Linked DNA regions of Homo sapiens: all the other regions are linked to region 3. Evidence: promoter capture Hi-C in 16 types of primary human blood cells and fetal thymus (Javierre and others, 2016). All regions are on one chromosome and are shown on one strand. The core of a region is centred on a gene start or on the middle of the fragment in contact, and the rest is flanking DNA. Distances in the headings are between cores, read along the strand shown. Region 1 has its middle 12 kb from the start of GBGT1. Region 2 has its middle 21 kb from the start of GBGT1. Region 3 holds the start of SURF4 (surfeit 4).

Region 1 (4,337 bases), core at 1,135-3,634, 200 kb before region 3:
CACAAATCGGGCAGCCTCCAGAATCACAGCAGATTCAGAGACTCTGGGGGTTCCTCGTGGTCAGAACAAATTTATAGACAAAAAAGTAAAGTGATGTACAGGAATTGGAAATGAAGTACAGAAACAGAGATTGGTTGCATCTCGGCGTTTGCCTTAGTTGAACACAGTTTAAACACTCAGCAGTCTATGAGTGGTTGAAGTATGGCCGCTGGGATTGGCCAACACTCAGCCATTGTTATAGGTGCATACTACTAAGTTGGGTTTTCCATCTTGTCTGCCTATTAAGCCAGCTTATGGTTCATCCACAAGGACTCAAATAGAGAGGTAGGGAGTCCCTTCTTAGGCCATATTTAGTTTGCTTTAACAATTCCCCTCTTTTGGTCAGCCTCTCAATTTAGAGAGATTGACCGAAGCTTTAGGCATTGATGCCACTCTCTGTCACCATCCTAAAGACTTATTTGGTCTCAGTGTGGAATTCACAAGTCTTCTTTAGTTTCAGTATGGAGTCTCACACATCTTCTTTGGTGTTAACATGGAATTCACAAGTTGCAGCTTTGTACCAGCTAAATGATTCTTTATGTTCTTTTTGACCTGGTTGGAATGAGACCATTCAACTCTCAATGGATGGCTGCATACAAAACATTTAAGACTTGAGAGGATACAGTGTATCAGGGTGACGATTATTATGACTATCAAGAGGATACTATCAAAATGCCAAGGCGTACTCCTTAATGAGAGTTCTTATGAAATGAACCGAACCAAATTAGCCAAGTGAAGGTTCAGACAATATAGGCAGTTCAACAGTGTTAGGGTCCAATTGGTCATTATCCTCGTTTAGAGTATGATAGCGATTAAGGACCATGGTTTGCTGTAAAGTGGCCTGACTTAAACAGTTACTCATTTTCATTGTTACATTGGTAATACAAGTCATAATAACTTGGAAACCTACTAGAAGAATTATAAGGATTAGAAGCCCTTGGAAAACCCAAGCTTGCCATCCACCCTTAGGATGCCTGCAAACCGTTAGTTGCCTATTGTAAACATGTCATGGGCTCCTTTCTCTTGAGAGATGTCTTTAATGTATTTGGTGGCAGTGTCTAAGGAAACAGCAGTATCAGCACCTTTTAAATTAAGCTTCCTGTAATAACAAAATCAGGTAAGAGATAAGTAGTACAACATTCAGTTTTGTTTAACACCAAACCTAGGCTTCCAGCTTGAGCAAAAAGATCTGAGGTTGCACGATGTTCCAGTAAGTGTTTTTGCTGAATTCACGTGTTGTCATCTATCTTTTTTTTTTTTGAGATGGAGTCTCACTCTGTTGCCCAGGCTGGAGTGCAATGGCATTATCTTGGCTCACTGCAACCACCGCCTCCTGGGTTCAAGCGATTCTACTGCCTCAGCCTCCCAAGTAGCTGGGATTACAGGCATGAGCCACCATGCCTGGCTAATTTTTGTATTTTTAGTAGAGATGGGGTTTCACCATGTTGGCCAGGCTGGTCTCAAACTTCTGACCTCAAGAGATCTGCCCGCCTTGGCCTCCCAAATGCCGGGATTACAGGCGTGAGCCACCATGCCCAGCCCTGTCATCTATCTTTCTGAGAGCAGCTTCTACCCATCTGAAACCCTGGGAGGTCTGATTGATTACAAAATCCAAGATTTTTCCCAATTTACAAATTAGCTTTAAATTCCATACAACTGCTATCTCACTACCACCAAGAGTGCACCCCCAGGAATCCCACTGGAATCTTTCCTCAGTAGAAACGAGCTTATCCTCAAATATTTCAAGGCTAGTGCTAATTTCAGTTATTGATCATTTTGGCCTCCAATCATAAGGGCCATCATGAGAATTTTCAGGGGAAGCTATTTGAAAGGCAGGAGCAAGCCAGGCCACATAACAAGAACCCAACCAATGAGGAGGCAGAACAGGATACGCAGACTCTTCACAGACCCAGTATAGACCCTTGGGGATTGGAAAAGAGGGCCACCTAGTTGCATTTGAGCAGAGATCAGTCAGGTTTGTTCGACCACAAATCTGCATACCTCCTGAACAACGTCCAGTGGGAAATTTACTTTTCTGTGGCCCCTTTATAGCATGTTGTAAGGGTATATAACCATATCTAGTAAAAAAGAGACCCTACTGGATTTAATCCAGTTACATTATACAAGCAATCACTTGTATCAACATAAGTAATTCCCAAATCTTGAGTGCGTGATGTCTGGAAGCACAATGTATCTTTTGCTGGCATCACTTGGATTTTTTTTTTTGAGACGAAGTTTCGCTCTTGTTGCCCAGGCTGGAGTGGAGTGTAATGGCACGATCTTGGCTCACTGCAACCTCTGCCTCCCAGGTTCAAGTGATTCTCCTACCTCAGCCTCCCCAGTAGCTGGGATTATAGGCGCCTACCACCATGCCTGGCTAATTTTTGTATTTTTAGTAGAGATGGGGTTTTACCATGTTGGCCAGGCTGGTCTCAAACTCCTGACCTCAGTTGATCCACCTGCCTCAGCCTCCCAAAGTGCTGGGATTACAGACATGAGCCACTGCACCCAGCCTTGGATTGTTTTTTTATATTTGGTAATGATCGACTTATCAATTGAAAAAGTTAGAGTGTTGTTTTTAGTGAGTGTAGGAAGCAAGTAGCAGTGATGTTTAGCATATCAAGAATAACTTTCTGTTCTTCCCTTAGTTTCAGGTAGCTCTCGCTGGGAACGCGGAGGGGCACTGGCACCAGTGGAATCATTTCCTGATTTTTTTTTGGCATTAGCCCACAAACCCAACAATTACTCTGGTTTTGTGCTAGAGCATAAACTTGAGCTAAAGCCATCCACTGATTATGGTGCCATGGGTTTGCCTGTAGGGAAAAGGACAAGATTAGGGCAGAAGATGAGGAAAACAGAAAAACACATAAGGCTTTCCTGATGATAGAGAAGTCTTGGTCCATGATCTTGGGAAAGCTGTCCAAAACTAGGATGCTGTCTGCTTCTGAAGAGAGATTTCCTTGGTCAGCTTTACTTTAAAGTCTCCAACAGGTGTACAGTTCCAGGACTCTGAAGGGGCCCCTTTTTGTTTTTTTGAGACGGAGTCTTGCTCTGTTGCCCAGGCTGGAGTGCAGTGGCGCGATCTCGGCTCACTGCAAGCTCTGCCTCCCGGGTTCACACCATTCTCCTGCCTCAGTCTCCCGAGTAGCTGGTACTACAGGTGCCTGCCACCACGCCCGGCTAATTTTTTTGTATTTTTTAGTAGAGAGGGGGTTTCACCATGTTAGCCAAGATGGTCTCGATCTCCTGACCTTGTGATCCACCCACCTCGGCCTCCCGAAGGGCTGGGATTACAGACGTGAGCCACCACGCCCGGCCAAAAACATGCAAACTATTACAAGAACATACTGATACCCCATTGCGCGTCACAACTAAATTAAGTCCATCTGTAAATGCTCAAATTGTTCATCAGGTGGTGGAAATATATGACCTGAAGTTTTGATTGTTTTTCCAGGATTATGAGTTTGACAAGTCAAACATTGATTATAAACCATTTTAGCAATTTTGGAACAGTCACCCGACCAGTATTTTTTCATAATTTGGATCATTTTGTCTGTTCCATGATGAGCGGTGGAGTGCAGCGTTTTCAACAATGGAAGCTTCAAAGACTCAGGAAGGACCAGGCGGCCGTCTGGGCCCTCCGTGAGTCTGTGCATCACATTAAATTTACATCCTTTTAGATACCAATTTTGCTTTTCCAAATCAGGTGCACTGCACTGTTTACTAAGCAGGTCATCATAAGGAAGTGGGCTCGGCTTAATCCAATGGAGTTCATTCAGATTGCATTTCTTAACAGTTTCAGCACTAGCTGATTTAGCATAAAAATTTGCTAAAGCATTTCCCTGATATTTGGGTTCAGTTCTACAAGTATGAGCTTCAATCTTAGTAACAACAGTCTACAATGGTAACAGGATAGCAGAAAGGGGCTCATTTACTTGGGGTCTATTTTTGATGGAGGTCCCACTAGAGGTGAGAAACCCTCATAGTTTCCATATCACGCCAAAATCATGTACTACTCCGAAAGCATATCTACTAGCTGTATAAATATTTACTGACTTGTCCTCAGCTATATGACAAACTTGGGTAAGGACAAAAAGCTCTGCAGTTCGGGCTGACTTAAATTGAGGAAGCGTTTCCTTCTCTATTCACTCATTTTGGATGGTAACAGCATATTCTGCCTGGTATTTTCCTTCTGAGATTTTAGGATAGGACCTATCAACAAAAAGTATAAATCCAGGATTATCCACTGGAGTATCTTGTAAATCAACATGAGGGGCCACTATTTCTGGCACTACATT
Region 2 (4,322 bases), core at 1,518-4,017, 230 kb before region 3:
AGCACCCACGCAGGGTGGGTGGGGCTGTGTGCCTGAATCTTCCCTCCCACCAACTGGCTTCCTGCAGCCTGTTCCTTGGTGCTGGGCTGGGGGCTCGCCTCATCCGCCCGCCTTCTTGGCGTGGCATCCGGCAAGAACGTGGGCCGGGGCTGCACGCACCTTGGGCTGTGGGCCGGCAGCTCCCCGCCACTGTCTGTGCTGCCCTCTGCCCTGCCCCTCCTCCTGTGGCACTCCAGCTGGGGGTGGCTGGGCAGAGTCCCCATGGGATCACCCTGAGCCCAGCCGACGACCCCCAAGTGAACATACGAGCCCAGTACCCAACTCCGGAGGTGGGCACACCCCTTGCCCATTTGACAGATGGGGCAAGGGAGGCTCAGAGGGGTGAAATCATGACCCAGGGTCACACAGTGAGCAAATGACCAGGGTCAGACTGGCATCCTGGCTCCATGAGAGCACCGGGAGTTCCTGCAGAGTTGTCACCAACAGTCCTACCCTCACTGCCATCCCCAGAGAGAACATCTGAGGCAACCAGGTCTCATAGCCTTCCCATCCCCAAAGTCCAACCCACTGGGCAGTGTGGCCCCACCTGCCTTTTCCCACCATTCTACTGCCCCACCCTCTCCCAGGGTCTGGGGCTCCACCTCGCTCCTTCCAGGCTGGACACCCCTCATCCATGTTCTCACCTCGGCTCCCGCAGTGCCCAAGTCTGGGTGCAGGGTGGGTGCCCACAAACTAAGGCAGCCCCTATGGGAGCCCAAGGGCAGGGCTTTCTTACACCCTCACAGCAACTGCGGGGACCTCAGGGCAGACAGGGAGGCTCAGAGGGGACCTGTGCTGCTTCTAGGATGCCCAGCAATAAGCGCTGAGCTGGAATTTGGACCCAGGTGTCCTGCTCCAAAGCCACCTGCCTCACCTGAGGACCAGGGGCCTGATGGCCGAGGTGGATGCCGACATGTGAGGAGGAAGGGCAGTGGCGGCCTGGTCCTGGTCCCCTCACTCTCCTGCCCCAAGGCCCCAGTAGGTGACATAATTCACAGGGCAATGTTTATGCACTGAACGGTAAACACACAGGCAGAGGGGTAGATGGGCCACCAATGGGGAAACTGAGGCCAGCGAGAAGGGACACACTAAGGTCACATAGTCAGTCGGTATCAAAGTTGGCCCAGAACCACAGTCCCCTGTTCCAAGGGCTGTACCCAGCCCAACCACAACCTGGCATGCCATCCAGCCCCAGGCCAGGGAGCCCACGGCTGCAGGGCGGCAAAGCACACGGTACCACACGTGGTACCCCATGGCCCCACACACTCTGGCTGGCACCGAGCCATCGCTGTGCTTTCTGACCTTGCGTTTTCTGACATTCTGCCACTGTCAACTCTCACTCAGGTATCCAGGAAGCGGCCTCTGTTGCTAGGGGACTGGCTTGATGCCGGGTGGCTGGCAGAGTGGGGAGATGGGGAGGGGGGAGTGGACTGGGGTGTCCCTCAGGAAGGATCCAGGGGCAGAGTCTACTGGGTCCTGTGTCAGGGTGGAGGGCCATGAGAAGTATCTGAGGAAACTCAGCAGGTCAGGCCCCTTCCTCCCCAGGCTCTAATGAAGGTCCTGGACCCTGGTCTCTGCATTTTCTCTTTCAGCCTCAGAGTCTTCTTTTTGGGCCAGGGGTGGGTGTGCGCTGGTGGGGGTTGGAAGTGAGCCATCGGAAAGCCCATCGGAAAGCCCCAGCCCGGAGCCTTCCTGCAGGCAAGTATTTTGGGGGCCAGCAGTTGCCAAGCAACTGCTCTGGGTTGCCACGGGAACACTCCCTTTTTTCTGGGGCTTGTCATTCTTAGGGGGATGCCACAATGCTTCCCGTTCCCTTTCCTCTCCACTTCCTCACCCTGGCTTGGCTGCCCTGGGAGGGGACACTGGGAGTCCATAAGCTCACACCCCACCCCTATGGGGGGGCCCACATACCCCTGGCCCTAAGACTCTTTGAGGCTCCAGAATCAAGAACCCCCAAAATGCAAAGCCCAGAGTCCAAGGCCTTCATTAGAGCAGGGAGACGATGAAAGGGGCTCATTAGCTCTGTTTATGTCTCCTTGCCGCCATTAACCACCACTTGGGGCCTAGGGCCTCCCAGCCCCGCCCTGCCCAGCAGCCGGGCCCAGCCCTGACCGTTGGAAGGCCACTGTAATTGGAAGGAATGTGGTCCTGGTGCCTGGCCCTTCCCAGGCTTGTGTGCACACGGGGAGGCGCCATTGCCAAGCTGCCACTACCTAGCTGTGGGAGTTCCTTCCCCTTCCAGTGCCTCAGTTTCCCCACCTGGAAGTGAGGATGGCAGTGGCACTTATCTTGCAGAGTGCTGAGCAGATACAAGGGACACTTTAGCACAAGGCCTACAGGCTGGCTGTCATCACCAGGCACCTCTGCAGCAGGGGACAGAGGGAAGGACTCTGTGGAGAATAGTCCTGTGGCTAGCGTGCAATGGTGACTGACCACGCCACTGATGGCAGAGTGGCCACTGAATCCAGGTCCCCAGGCTCGCAGCCCATGCCTTCTCCACAAGATCTGTCTGCCCCATACCCCTGAGCCTTCCACAGAAGCCAGGGTGCTTCCCACAGGCCAGGCACCCAGCGCCAGCCAGGTGTACAGAGGCCAGTATCTGCTGTGTGAATCAATCGCTGAACCAACTGTCAAGGACCAGCAGCCTCAGGGGCGGGCCTGGTAGCTCGGTGAGCGAGGAGGTGGTGGGAGGGCCTTGTGCGGGTAGGGAGGTGACAGTAAGAAATGGCCTCTTGCTGGATGCAGTGTCTCAAGCCTTTAATCCTAGCAGTTTGGGAGGCCGAGGCGGGGGGAATCCCTTGAGCCCAGGTGTTTGAGACCAGCCTGGGCAACATGGTGAAACTGTTTCTACAAAAAAAATCCAAAAATTAGCTGGGAGTGTTGGCGTGCACCTGCCGCCCCAGCTACTCTGGAGGTCTGAGCCCAGGAGGTCGAGGACGCAGTGAGCCGTGATCTGGCCCCTGCACTGCAGCCTGGGCCACAGAGCAAGACCCTGTCTCAATAATAATAATAATAATAATAATAATAATAATAACAACAACAACAACAATAATAATAATAATAATAATAATAATAATAATAAAATAAAGGAATGGCTTCCACTCATTCCACTCCTGGGCCAGCGGCCCGCTGTGCACTCCGCTCCCTTTCGCTGATGCCATGTGAGCAGCTCCATGGCGGGGACCTGACCCCTGCTCCTCAGCCCCACACTGCCTCGCCCCTTTGTATATCAAAGGCGCCTCTGAGGGGCTGTGCTGACCCCCACCAGGAGCAGCAGGACCACCTCAGGCATCCCAGCTCCCCTGAGGCAGGGTCTGGGGCTGGGGTTGGGGGGAAGGACCCCTCAAGTCTCTATCTGCACAGACAGCCCACCCGTGCCCAGGGCTGCCTTCCGAGCACCCGCAGACCTGGGCCTGCAGTAACAGGAGAGCTATCTGCAAACCGCAGTGTCATCAGCCGCACGGCCTCTGGAGAGGCCTGAGAAAGGCCGGCTCAGCTTGCAGGCGAGGAACCAAACGAAAGGCAAACTCCTGGCCCCTGCAGCCTCGCAGGTCCCCTATCCCTCCTCCCTGCCTTCCTTTCCGCCCCGCTGACACCACGGTCTGCAAACCATGGTCCTCCTCGCCACCCCTGTCACCTCCTCCTCCGCCCCCCGCCGGCCTCCGACGCAAAGTCGCCACCCAGTCACCCCGCCTCGGCCCCGCCTGGTTTGATTTCCTCCCGTGTGTGTCACCCATGAGGTGGCCGTGCCCCTGGCCTGTTTACAGCTGTGCGCAAGCTCCTCGCGACCCGAAAGCGAGACCTTTGTCTGCGGCAGCTCCGCGCCGGGCTGGGCGGCCGCACGGGAGGGCACAGCGCCACCTGCTGGTGCTGCCGCCAGAGCGCGCCAAGCTGAGGAGCAGGCGGGCTCCGCTCACGCCCCCACACCCCCTGGCTGGGGGCTGGGTTCCTGCGATGTCTTCCGACTCCCCGCTGCTCCCCTAGTCCCCGTAGGCACGCGGGTACCCGGCCTTTGGGAGGGGGATCATTCCCAATACTCCTGTTACGGGTTGAACTGTGTCCCTGAACAAAAAGATCTCTGGTACCCGTGAATGAGATCTTATTTGGAAATAGGGTCTGTGCGGATAGAATCCGGATGAGGTCATACTGGATTAGGGTGGGCCTTAATCCAATGACTGCTATCCTTATGATAACAGGGAAAATTGGACAGACACGCACAGGCGGACAGACACGAACTGATGAAGGCACAGTTTGCAGTCACACGTCTACAAAACCAGGAACGA
Region 3 (4,072 bases), core at 1-2,500:
TTTTTTAAACCACACATATACAAGCCTTCCGATAAGTCTAGGCCTCAGAGTTTGATGACTCACTACCACCTCCAGAAAAATTTAAAAATTTAACCATCACTACTTAAAACTCTAGCAAAGCCACACGAACACATTAAGTAAACCGAGGAAAAAACGGCAAGTGGGCCACACAAGGCTCTCCCTGCGGGGATAAGGCTGTTAATTTGTCGACATAACGGGATTCTTTTAGAAGTAAAAGGCATAAATCTGCGTAACCACCACCACCTTTTGTTTTTGTTTTTTTGTTCTGTCAAGCTTAATCAAGAAAGAGGGAAGGGAGTTGTGTCCCTTCACTTTGTAGGATCGGATCCTGTCCACCCAGTTCCCGAATGCTCTCAACAGTTACCCAACCGCCTGTTTCAAAGGCTTCCCTGTTGCTCAGAATGCCACCTGGACACTTCTGGAAGGAGACTATCAGGGAGATAGGCTTCCCCTCCTCCCAGGCTGTGTACAGGTCCCCACTCAATCCAGCCCAGGGCAGAGTCCAAACGGGGAGGGAGACGCAGACAGGGTCAAAGGGACCCCAAGAGTCCAGCACATCTGGGAAAGAGAAAAGGAAAAGGTGCTGTGGCTTCCTGTAGCTGGGGCGCACGCCAGCGCGCCCCCTTTCCTCTGGGAGGACCCCCGGCCCCCGTTCGTCCCCGAGCTCCCAGCCCGCCTCCGGGAGCCCCAGTGAGAGGAAAAACGTGCGGGGACCCCCCAGCAGCTCCAAACGCCGAGGCGCTCCCCGCGAGCCTCAGACCCGACCCAACGCCAGGACTCGCGCCGCCGGCCCGGGAAGAAACCCCCACAGCCCGCGCCCCGGGCTGGCTGGAGGGTGGGGGCGGCTAGCCAGGCAGGGCGCCGAGGCCCGGGCTCCGGGAGCGGCCCAGCGGGCAGGGGAGACTGGGCCCGGAGGCCGGGTTTGGGGCTGTCCAGCCGGGACAGAGGGCCCGGGCGGGGGGGTCCCCCTGTGGGAACAAGGAGTCAGGGGGCGGCCCGGGCCTGGCGCCCTGCGCTGGGAGGCCGACTCCGGAGCGGCCCGGGCGGCCTGGGTCGGGACCGGGGCCGGGGGAGGAGCCCGCAGGCCGCACCTGGTCGGCGAAGTCCTCGGCCGTGCCCATCAGGTCGTTCTGGCCCATGGCGACGGCGGGAGGCTCGGCTCGGCTCGCTCGCTCGCTCGCTGGCTCTCGCCCGTCGGCGCCCGCACCCGCTGCGGCCTCCACAGGAAGTGCCCGGCGGCCGGCCTCGCTCCGCGTCGGCTGCGGCTCCAGCGGCTGCCACGTAGGCCAAGCCTTAAAGGGGCCGCGCGCCGCCCGGGCCCGCCCCGGTGCGTCTTAAAGGGGCCACGCGCCATCCCCAGCCTCCCGACCCATCCGCTCGAAGCCACGCCCGCCGCGCTCGACGCCACGCCTCTCACGCTGGAGGCCCCGCCCGCCGCGCGCAGGCCCTGCGGTCCCTCCCGGCCCGGCGGAACGCGTCCCTTTTAAGGGGGCGGGGACCTGGGGGTCTGGGGCCAGCGCGCGGGAGGGACGCCTGAGTGCCTCGAGGGCGCCGTTCGGGCGGGGAGGATCCCGCGGGTCCCACTGACCCACGCGGGGTGGGGCCAGGGGTGGACGCTCGCCCGTACGCGGTCGCTACTGATCATGCTTGGGCCAGGGTCCAATCGCAGGCGCCCCACGCAGGGGGAGCGAGGCCCAGGGTCCCCCGGAGAGCCCATGGAGAAGTACCAGGTGCCGAGTGTTCCCTGCGGGGAGGCGGGAGCTCCGTGGGGTAACGGTCGCAACCCTGGAGCTACGGCCGGCGGTTCCGACCGAGGGCGGCGAGGGGCCCGCGCCCTGGCCAGTGTCGGCCTGCAGCTCCTAGGTTGAACCCGGGGGGCCTCCAACGGTGACCTCCTGGGTGCCCTTTGCCACTCAGTTTCCCCCTTTGTGAATTGACTAAGGATTCTCCAGCCCTGGCTGAGTATTTGAGGGCGTGGGGCAGCTCCTCTATCCTTCGTGCCTGGGGTCTGTGCGCTTGGGTCCACCGAGGCAGGACCCCCGGGAACATCCCGAGTACATAATTGGGAGCCCCCAGTCCCCTAAAAACACCCCTGCAGCGTGGGTCTGTGAAAATGTTTGAGACCTAAAAAATTCACAAAACACAAAAGGAAAGCTGCAAAATAAAAGTAAATGTTTAATTAAATGCTTCTATACATGATATATACACTTTATTAAATGTTAGATTCAGCATTTGTGAAAAATGCATTCGCTTGGAAACAGTTTGCGGGTTAGATTTTTGTCACTTTGGAAGAATTGTCTTTGTGTGAGAGGACTATAGGGCGTTGCCAGAGGTGAAGCAGATGAGCTTCTGGTGGCCAGATAATTTTTAAAGTAAAGTTGTTTTTCAGATTAAAAAAAAATAGACGTTTCAGGAATATACCTGCTTTTGGAAAAAAAAATAGACTTGATTCGAGATACGGCTCCATTTTACTGTTTAATTTGCTGCCTAAGCTTGAACGCTCTCACACCAGCTCTGCCCTCAGCCCGCTGTGGCTTAGAACAGCAGTCCCTGGCCGGGCTCGGTGGCTCACGCCTGTAATCCCCAACACTTTGGGAGGCCAAGGCGGGCGGATCACCTGAGATCGGGAGTTCAAGACCAGCCTGACCAACATGGAGAAACTGTCTCTACTAAAAATACAAAATTAGCCAGGTGTGGTGGCGCATGCCTGTAATCACAGCTACTCGGGAGGCTGAGGCTGGAGAATCGCTTGAACCCAGGAGGCAGAGGTTGTGGTGAGCCAAGATAGCGCCATTGGACTCCAGCCTGGGCAACAAGAGCAAAACTCTGTCTCAGAAAGAAAAAAAAAAATAGCAGTCCCCAACCTTTTTGGCACAAGGGACCAGTTTTGTGGAAGACAATTTTTCCACAGATGGAGGCGGGAGGATGGTTTTGGGATGATTCAAGCACATTACACTTAGTGTGCAGTTCATTTCTATTATTATGTTGTAATACATAATGAAATAATTACACAACTCACCATAATGTAGAATCAGTGGGAGCCCTGAGCTTGTTTTCTTGCAACTAGACCATCCTCTCGGGATGATGGGAGACAGTGACGGATCATCAGGCATTTGTTTCTCATAAGGAGCATGCAACCTGGATCCCTCACATGCACTGTTCACAATAGGGTTCACACTCCCATGAGAATCTAATGCTGCTGCTGAGCTGACAGGAGGTGGAGCTTGGGTGGTAATGCGAGCCATGGGGAGCGGCTGTAAATACAGATGAAGCTTTGCTCCACTGCCTGCTGCTCACCTCCTGCTGTGCAGCCTGGTTCCTAACAGGCCACGGACTAGGTTGGGGACCCCTGGCTTAGAATATCCAGTGTCATGAGCAGGCTGCTCACAAGGCTGGATTACAGACTCCTAAGACTTTTATGGGCTCCGAGAGTCCCTAGGCTCAGGCTTCCATCCTCATATCTCCTCCTCTGGGTCCTGCCCTCCCTCCCCCAATCCTCTGATGAATGTCAGCCTCCAGCAATCCCCGGCCCAGCCCCCTGCCCCATAGCACTTGGTCTCTGCACAGAGTTCTGGCTTGGTGGCCATCTCTCCAGATTTGGCTCAAATCACAGGCTCTAAGATCAGACCCCCAGAGTTACCCCAGGCAGTGTCCTGCTTTCTAGTGACATAGCCTCAGGCAAGGACCTAGCTCCTTGTGCCTCAGTTTTCCCCAATGTAAACACAGAGGTAGCAATGGTGTCAACTGCAAAGGGTGGCTGTGAAGTGCTTGGCACCATGCCAGGCACACAATGGCTTCCTGATTGTACCAGTCACAAGATTGGTTACTTTCTTGTTGGAAACCAGTTGGGAGGTGGATGCTGGAAGTTGAGGTCACAGAGGTCTATAGAGAGTGAATAAGCCCTTTTTCTCTGGGAGGTTCTTGCACTTGAGTGCCCAGCTGGTCCTCATTGCAGGTTGGGGGAGGGATACAGGGTTGTAGAAGAGCTCCAGAATCGGCCCCAAATAGGTGAGATCAGAGTTCTGCCATTGAAAGGCTTCTTGCCCTCCTT

Evidence for each region. The method cuts DNA at HindIII sites, captures the fragments that hold promoters and counts their contacts. A CHiCAGO score of 5 or more calls a contact.
Region 1: a contact is called between a fragment that was not itself captured here and the fragment with the promoter of SURF4 in region 3, in 2 of 17 cell types (erythroblasts and M2 macrophages). The highest score is 6.1, in erythroblasts.
Region 2: a contact is called between a fragment that was not itself captured here and the fragment with the promoter of SURF4 in region 3, in 2 of 17 cell types (naive CD8 T cells and total CD8 T cells). The highest score is 6.6, in naive CD8 T cells.

Annotation. Positions count from the first base shown.
Region 1 is chr9:133,173,577-133,177,913 of GRCh38, forward strand. No RefSeq gene overlaps it. Among named protein-coding and RNA genes, the nearest start is that of GBGT1, 12 kb to the left of the region's middle. The HindIII fragment of the contact is 2,504 bases long and covers 1,133-3,636 here.
Region 2 is chr9:133,140,701-133,145,022 of GRCh38, forward strand. It overlaps a transcript of RALGDS not described here. Among named protein-coding and RNA genes, the nearest start is that of GBGT1, 21 kb to the right of the region's middle. RefSeq lists enhancers at 1,609-1,888, 1,939-1,988, 2,388-2,517, 2,568-2,657, 3,110-3,669 and silencers at 3,816-3,915, 3,946-4,065. The HindIII fragment of the contact is 8,766 bases long and covers 1-4,322 here.
Region 3 is chr9:133,374,810-133,378,881 of GRCh38, forward strand. SURF4 (surfeit 4) reads right to left here and starts at 1,251. Exons shown (of 6, transcript NM_033161.4): 1 at 1,113-1,251. The coding sequence starts at 1,160. STKLD1 (serine/threonine kinase like domain containing 1) reads left to right here and starts at 1,557. Exons shown (of 18, transcript NM_153710.5): 1 at 1,557-1,751. The coding sequence starts at 1,665. RefSeq lists silencers at 676-955, 966-1,205, 1,296-1,795. The HindIII fragment of the contact is 2,219 bases long and covers 293-2,511 here.